3 separate regions of the Homo sapiens genome follow, and all the other regions are linked to region 3. Evidence: promoter capture Hi-C in 16 types of primary human blood cells and fetal thymus (Javierre and others, 2016). All regions are on one chromosome and are shown on one strand. Each heading gives the region's core, a stretch centred on a gene start or on the middle of the fragment in contact. The rest is flanking DNA. Distances are from core to core; before and after follow the strand shown.

Region 1 (2,701 bases), core at 120-2,619, 2.8 Mb before region 3:
GTTTAGACTTGGGTCCCATCCTCAGGTTATCTCACTATGTATATGCAAATATTCCAAAATCCAAAAACATCTGGAATTCTAAAACTTCTGGTCCCAAGCATTTTGGATATGGGATCCTGAAACTGTAGTTTATTTGGGAATAATAGGGGATTGCAATTTAGATACATGCGCTATGCTGGATCATAGGTACGTCCAAAGAAGTTGGGGCAAATGGAAACTTTTAAAGACCCAAAAGGGAAGTCCACCTAAGCGGTTTTGAAACAAAGACCATTGGTTTCAGAGGTTTATTGCAGGAGCTGGCATTAGTCCATTGGAGACAGGTGCACCAGGCAAGTGTCCTGTGCAAGTAACAGGCTCTAAGGAATTCCTGGCATAGTTCCTGTCATAGGCATACTTGCATGAGGGCCCTTCCTTCCTATCCTCTGGCTCCATTTTGTTAGAGTTTGACATGAGTGACTCCATTTTGATAAACGTGAAATATCTTTTCGATTGGTGCCTTCCTCCTCCCACGTTGTTGCTTATATAGAGAGAATGAGTTGCCCACTTCTCCACTTCTGGAATTTACCCAAGAGTTTTAAAAAAGAACCCTGGACATATGTTGAAGTTTCCTTCAATTTCCAGCTGTACCAAATGAGAAAAGATCATATTTTAAAATGTGTTACTGTCAACTCATGGTCAGCTAATTTCTGAAAAGAGTTTCCTGTTTTGGTTAATTTAGGAAAGGGAGTACAATGAATGATAAGGAGGTGGAGTTGCATGTGGTCTACAGGGCACAGCTGTAGGTGGCAAATGAGCTGAGATGGTCATTGTGTGAATTGGAGCCGTCTTACCGCAGTGCTCCCTTCTCAGTGGGCTTCTCATTTGCCTCCGGTGAAAGGATTCCTGTTTCTTTTCTCCCCATACCTTGCAATTTACATAACTTTTGCAAGATAGCTATTGTTAAGTAGAATTAAGCTCTTGCCTAGAGCAAGGGCAGTCAAGAATCAGATATATTAAAAAGTCTCCTTAATTGCATTTCCCTTTGTAGATAGTTTCAAGCATACAGCCTCTGAAAAACTCTGCACCAAGATGGGCTGATTTAATTACGTAAAAGAGATTTAGCCTAGAGTTAAGTTTTCCCTCTCTTCTCAGCTGTTTACCCTGTTAAAGTTTCACTGATTTGCAATTTCTCAAGGGCAGGCATCAACTTTAAGGGCTGGAACATTTAGGAGGGTAGAAAGAGCACGTGCTCTGGCTCCAGAGATCTGCCTCTCACCAGATTCCTGACCTAAGGGAAGTCACAGAACCCTTGGGACCCCAGTCCCTTCACCGGCAAAGGAGACACAGTCCTGCCACAGGTGGCTGCTGATGGCATTCAGGAAATGGGGTTTGTCTCTTCCCTTCCCAGAACCAGACTTCCCAGTGTACAGCTCAGTACATTGTCATCCACTCTCTTCTTGAAAGCATTTGTGGATGGAAAGGCAGAGACTCCCAGGCTCAGGCCACCCTCCCACATCAGCCTCCTGAATAGCTGGGACTACAGGGGTGCACCACCACACCTGGCTAATTTTTGTATTTTTTGTAGAGATGGGGTGTCACCAGGTTGACCAGGCTGGTATTGAACTCAGCCTAAGAGATCCACTGGCCTCGGCCTCCTGAAATGCTAGGATTATAGGCTTGAGTCACTGTGCCCAGCCGAGTAATTTTTTTTAAATAAGTCATTTTTAAAAATTAAATTAAATTAATTTATTGGCACGGAGTTTTGCTCTTTGCCCAGTCTGGAGCACAATGGTGTGATCTTGGCTCACTGCAACCTCTGCCTTCTGGGCTCAAGCGATTCTCCTGCCTCAGCCTCCCAAGTAGCTGGGATTATAAGCATGCGCCACCACGCCTCGCTAATTTTGTACTTTTAGTAGAGGTGGGGTTTCACCATGTTGGTCAGGCTGGTTTCCAACTCCTGACCTCAGGTGATCCGCCTGCCTCAGCCTCCCAAAGTGCCAGTATTACAGACGTGAGCCGCTGTGCCTGGCCGAGTAATTTTTTTTTAAAAGAGAAAAGAAAAAGCAGAGCAAAACAAAATAGACATTTTAAACATCTTACAGATTTAAAGTTGCCTCCTTTTTTTTCAAGGAACACAAAATATATAGATGATTGAGTTTACTTATAAAGATAATGCTTGGCATATTTATAGAAAAACACGGACTTAAAATTGGGTAACATAATCTTTTTTTAAATTAAAAAAACTGTAACGACATATTTGTTTCTTTACGGGGTATAATGTGATGTTATGATTTATGAGTATAATGTGGAATAATTAAATCAAGCTAATTAACATATCCATCAGCTCAAATAGTTATCATTTTGTGGTAAGTAAACATTTAAAATTTACTCTTAGCAAATTTGAAATGTACGTTATTACTGTATTCACCATGCTGTGCAATATGTCTCAAAGAAAAAAACGATTCCTCTTGTCTAATTGAGGCTTTGTAGCCTTTGATCATCATTTCTTCCTACACCTTCAGGCTCTGGTACCCACCATTCTACTCTCTGCTTCTTTGAGCTCCATTGTTTTAGAGTTCACATGTAAGAGAAAACATGCAGTGTTTGTCCTTCTGTGCTGGCATATTTTACTTAGGACAGTGTTCTCCAGTTTCATCCATGTTGTCACAAACGACAACATTTCTTTTTTACAGCTGAATAATATTCCGTTGTGTATATGTCC
Region 2 (2,732 bases), core at 119-2,618, 2.9 Mb before region 3:
TGGCATCGTGGAGGTCATATGTTCATGGAGATAAACAGTTCTTGAACGGTTTACTCCAGGTGGTAAAAACACATGGGAAAGTGATTTGGGCTGTGCGTATCTTGGTTTTTTAAAAAATCATTTTTATCGAGCGTTTATTGTGATCATGGCCAAAAATAAAATAATTCTTTGACTTTTTTTGAAATACTATACACACATTTCTATATTACATTTTTAAGAATTGCTTATTTTTCAATTTTTCTAGTATTTCTTGTATATTCTACCACAGGTGAACAACTCATTTTTTGGGTGACATTTTTAGAGCTTGCTTGAGGGGCACTAGAAAGAAGGGCAGTAATGTGATGTGAATGTTTCAGCTTATGAAAACAGCTGTGCTCTACTTTAAGAAATTTGACATTTAAAAGTGTAAGATTGCAAAACAAATTAATTACTAGTTGGTTATATTATGTGAGAATTTTAAAAAAGGGATTCACTAAAAGTTGTTTTCAAATACTTAATCCCTTTAAATGGTATTTATCTAATGTGATTTGATTTGTGAATAATCAGTTGGCATACAACAATTTAGGAACAGATTTTTGGCATATGTAAGGGTTATCAGTGTGTTCTTTGAGTTCTCTCTTTACCAAAAGTATTTGGGGACAAAGTTAAATTCAGTGTTGTTCCACTTATATGCCACCTATAATGGTTTAACTGAGTGGGAAAATTGTCATCTGATTTATCCCATATCATTTAAGGCAGCGGTGTCCAATCTTTTGGCCTCCCCGGGCCACGTTGGAAGAAGAAGAATTGTCTTGGGCCACACATCAAATGCATTAACAATAACTAATGAGCTTAAAAAATTGCAACAAAAATTTCATATTTTTAGAAAGTTTACACATTTGTGTTGGGCCTCATTCAAAGCTGTCCTGGGCCATGGGTTGGACAAGCCTGATTTAAGGAGTACATTGAAGCCTAATTAAAATGCTTTTCACCATTGAGTAAAACTTTATGATCAGGTTTGTCAGGAACCTCATCCAAGGTAGTTTAGTTAGTGGAGTATCAAAAGCACCTTGTTGTCAGACACTCTCACTAGGACAGTGGTCCCCCAGCAGAGGCCAACAAGCAGTTATACCCAAACTTCAGCAAAATCAAAATAAGTAGATTTGGTCTAAAGTCCACAAGCAGTAAAAACCGTTACCTTGAAATTTTCTGTAGGTGCAAATTATTCTTCAGAATTAAAGGCTTGATTTTCCTAAGCTGTAATTCTGTTTGAGTCACTTGTGAAAAATGCTATTTTGGTAAAAGAACAACTATGTATTCTTTCAAAGGAGTTTTTTCCCTTTGTGTTAATGCATTTGCGTTTATTTGGAATTGCAGGAGATGATGAATGAAGTACTTGGGAAGTTTAATTCAGAAATCATTTTGCTTTGCTTATGTAGAAAAAAAAGGAATGTGAGTTAATAGGAGAACTTATTTGTGGGTTAGTTCGTACTTCATGTGGGGATAAGGAGGAAAGGGAGGAAGTAGCTGCAAACTTTATTAAGGATAACTAATCAAGTTTCATTTGATTTATACTGTTCATGCCTGGCTTGGGTAACAGTGACGCCTTCACCTTTTCCTAGTTTTCGAGAAATTTTATTCTTAGAGAAGGGGTTTGAAGGATAAGAGCTAAGCATCAGGGCATACAAGAAGTAAAAAATATCTTCAGAATGCTTAATAGTATTTTGTTTTGTTTTTATACATTAGAAAGCAAGAAATTATTTTAATACTGAATATGGGTCAAAAGCCCAACTTCGGGATACTGGGCACGGTTTCATACCTCTTAGCATAATTGAATATTATAAAAATGGAAGGAACAGCTTGAATGGTGCCATTGATTTTTTTAGTACAGGCTCTTAGTTCCTCAATTGAACAAATGAGTAAAAATGAAGATTAAAGAAGAGATGATATTAAAAGAAGTGTTTTCCATTTTTTAAAAAATCCCAAGGGACTGTCTCAAATGACTGTTAATTTCAGAACATAGATTAAAAAGTACATTACATTGGATTTATGATTAATGAGGACACAATTACAATTTTTAAAAAATACATGTAAAAAAGGTGAGTATACTACTGCAGTTTACAAATATTTGTGCCAAGATACGTGAGGCTAGTGGTAATGATTAGAAATTATAATTGGAAGTGAAGACTGATTTATGTTCTCAATTTCATTATTTAAGCCAATGTCACTTTTAAAATGTCACTTAATTTTTCTATTCCCAATGTTCTTTTCAATAAAATGCAGTCATTAGTGCACCATACTTTATGTAAACTGGGGTTTCAAAATAATATTAACTAGAATTTTTTTTTTTTTTTTTTTAGACAGAGTCTCACTCTGTCACCCAGGCTGGAGTGCAGTGGCGCGATTTTGGCTCAATGCAACCTCCGCCTCCCGGGTTCAAGCAATTCTCCTGCCTCAGCCTCCCAAGTAGCTGAGATTACAGGCACCCACCACCACGCCTGTCTAATTTTTGTATTTTCAGTAGAGACGGGATTTCACCATGTTGGCCAGGCTGGTCTCAAACTCCTGACCTCAGGTGATCCGCCCTCCTGGGCCCCCCAAAGTGCTGGGATTACAGGTGTTAGCCCGTGCCCAGCCAATTTACTAGATTTCTTAAGCATAAAATATTATCTAATAATATGTATATGTATGTCCACTACATGGGATTTTTAAAAAGTTTAGATTTTGTGATCTGCAGAACTGTAGGCAACAGT
Region 3 (2,719 bases), core at 127-2,626:
CTCAAAAAGATATTTAAATATCTTTAATATCAATTTAAATTTAATATCCTTAAATATCAGGAAAATATCAATCTTTATAATATCAAGAAATAACTCATCTTTTCCCACCACTAGACGAAACGTGCATTGGAGACTGACCTGGAAATTCAGCGTCCCAGATGGCTACAAAACAAGGACAACTAGAAGTAGTTATGAATTCTAGGAAATATATTCACAAGTGTGTAAAGATTCTATAGTATTGAACACTTAGTCAAAGGAGTCCTACTTGAATTCTCAAATCAATGACAAAGTTGCTTCCTCTCTACCCAAGATCAGGAGCTTCCCTAGTTTGCACATATCCACATTGACCAGTGGCTATAAAGTCACACTGCGATTATCTGGGTCATTTTAAAATAGGTCATTAGCAGTACTTGTAGTATCGCGTCTGTCTAAAAATCCTCCAACACCGAGTGACTTTTAAACTTTGGGGTGCCTTGGTAACCCCAGGGACGCTTATTAGACATGCAGACTCCGGGGCCCAAGCTCCAGACTAATTCCATGGGAATAGGGCGGGTCCCGAAACCGGCATTTTTAATCATCTGCCCGGGTGAATCCGAAGTGTGGTCCAAAAGCCACAGTCGAGGTGCCTCTGCCTAACAAGCTCCACAGAAAGCTCCGACTTCAGCCGCCCCGACGGCGATACGGACGCCGAGTTAGGCTGTCGGGGGTCTGTCTGGCGGCCGCGGGAAGGGACTCGGGGCCGGCGCGTCCACTAGCGACGTCCGGCCCGAGGTGAGAAGGGACTGACAATGGTACCGCAGTTATTTTCAATATTTCCATAAAGTCCCACGAAGCCGTGTGGCCGTGGGAAAAGGGCTTTAACTTTGAAATCCCACGGGTCAGGTTACCACCAGCTCTGCCGCCTCCTAACAGCGCGTCCCCGCAGTTCCCTTAACGTTCGGGCCTCAGTTTCCCGATCCGTGCAACGGGCTCACGCCATCTCCGGAAGGCTAAGCCGAAACGAAACTAACTCCGCCGCTCGCAGACACTTCCTGGCTCTGCTCAGCGCGGCCCAGCCTCCCCAGCCGCCCGGGAGGAGTACCCGGCCCAAGCGCGTCGCGCAGGCAGTCGCCTCCCAACGCCCCCGGCCCTCGGCCGGCCACTCACGGGTAGGCATGGCGATCTCGACCGCGCTCGCCGCCGCACCGAGGCTCAGCGGGGCCGCGCAGGGAGCGCCGACGGCACCATGACGGCCGTTGCTGGGCCGCGGAGGCCGGAACGAGGCGAAGGGCGAAGGGCGAAGGGTGGAGGGAGCGGACGCGGACCCCGCGGTCACGCAACCAAGCGGGCGACAGCTACCGCCGCCAGCCCACTCCTCGCCGGGCGGCGCGACGGACGACCCACGCCCGTTACGTCAGCGCGCCGCCGCCGTCCCGGCCCCGCCCCCGCGGATGGCCGGGCTCGGCCCAGGATCCCTTGTCGAGCGGGTGGAATGGGTGGCTGGGGACAGCCACGTAGAACAACTTCGGGTGCCTTCTATTTTCCAAGCCTGGTGACCTGCGTGGCATTCGTTTTCCTTGATCTCTATTTGGAGTGCATCACTTTACGTTTGTGAGGATGATGGCTTTGAGCGCACGGAGTACCTGTGGGCTTTTTCTTTTGCAATCGGTTTAACTTGCAGTGCGTTTTGCATACTCTGAAAGCATGGTTTATTTGAGATGCACTAAGGTCATTTGGGGTGATGGCTGCTCATTTTTTGAGAGGGCAGAAAATGTAATTTCCTTTTGCTCTTGTGACTTTCAGAGCGACCTTATCCCTCAGGAGTTAGTCTCCTCTGGAGAGGGCAGCTCTGTGCACTTGGCTGAGCTACTCTTCTTGACTCTGGGTGTCATTAATAATTGAGGTATCTAATAGTCACCAAGCTGAGCAGACACCGGGAGCCAGAGAGCTGAGCAACGCACCTACACTATGCTAGGCGCCGTGGGCTGCGGACAGCCCATATGGAGATATAAAAGCCAACCGCAGAGGTTTAACACAGCCTTCCTCAAAGTGGGTCAAAGTGGTCCAGGATCCTTTTGTGCTTGGATCCCCTGGGGACTTGTTGAAAAGCAGATTCCTAGGTGCTGAGCCAAATCTACGAACACATATACAGATGATTTAAATACAATGATAATACTGAGAACCTTTGTCCTAAAAAGTAGGGCTAACCTTCTGATTAAGAAATGATATTGTGCAGTACTGGGAGGAGAAGATGAAGAACATGAAGATCAGAGCTAGGAAGCGCTGAGGAGAAATTAGTCTTGGCTTGAGGTGGACTTGGAAGAAAGCAGAATTTGAATTAGCAAAGCCTAGGGGAGTCCTAAAAGAGGCTGGGGAGAGGATGAAGGGTAATTTAGAGTGAGTCATGGCAGCTGGGGAGAGGAGAGTGTGTACTGTACCTATAAAAGAGACTGTCCAGCTGGGAACGGTGGCTCACGCCTGTAATCCTAACACTTTGGGAGACCGAGGTGGGCGGTGGGCAGATCACCTGAGGTCAGGAGTTCGAGATCAGCCTGGCCAACATGGCGAAACCCTGTCTGTACTGAAAATGCAAAAATTAGGCGGGGGTGGTGGCACATGCCTATATTCTCACTCAGCTACTTGGGAAGCTGAGGAAGGAGAATCGCTTGAACCCAGGAGACGGAGTTTGCAGTGAGCCGAGATCGGGCCACTGGACTCTAGCCTGGGCTACAGAGCAAGA

The links. Contacts are between HindIII fragments. The CHiCAGO score rates a contact against its expected background, and 5 or more counts as called.
Region 1: a fragment that was not itself captured here is called in contact with the fragment with the promoter of EFR3A in region 3 in 1 of 17 cell types (total CD8 T cells); the score reaches 5.6 in total CD8 T cells.
Region 2: a fragment that was not itself captured here is called in contact with the fragment with the promoter of EFR3A in region 3 in 2 of 17 cell types (fetal thymus and activated CD4 T cells); the score reaches 8.2 in fetal thymus.

What each region holds. Positions count from the first base shown.
Region 1 is chr8:134,707,980-134,710,680 of GRCh38, reverse strand. The region is part of intron 1 of ZFAT (zinc finger and AT-hook domain containing); the gene reads left to right. Among named protein-coding and RNA genes, the nearest start is that of ZFAT, 3.7 kb to the left of the region's middle. RefSeq lists an enhancer at 570-1,253. The HindIII fragment of the contact is 6,003 bases long and covers 1-2,701 here.
Region 2 is chr8:134,827,372-134,830,103 of GRCh38, reverse strand. It overlaps a transcript of ZFAT not described here. Among named protein-coding and RNA genes, the nearest start is that of NCRNA00250, 9.3 kb to the left of the region's middle. The HindIII fragment of the contact is 4,725 bases long and covers 1-2,732 here.
Region 3 is chr8:131,902,750-131,905,468 of GRCh38, reverse strand. It overlaps EFR3A (EFR3 homolog A), which reads right to left and starts at 1,376. Exons shown (of 23, transcript NM_015137.6): 1 at 1,147-1,376. The coding sequence starts at 1,156. RefSeq lists an enhancer at 380-429 and a silencer at 1,000-1,479. The HindIII fragment of the contact is 8,534 bases long and covers 1-2,719 here.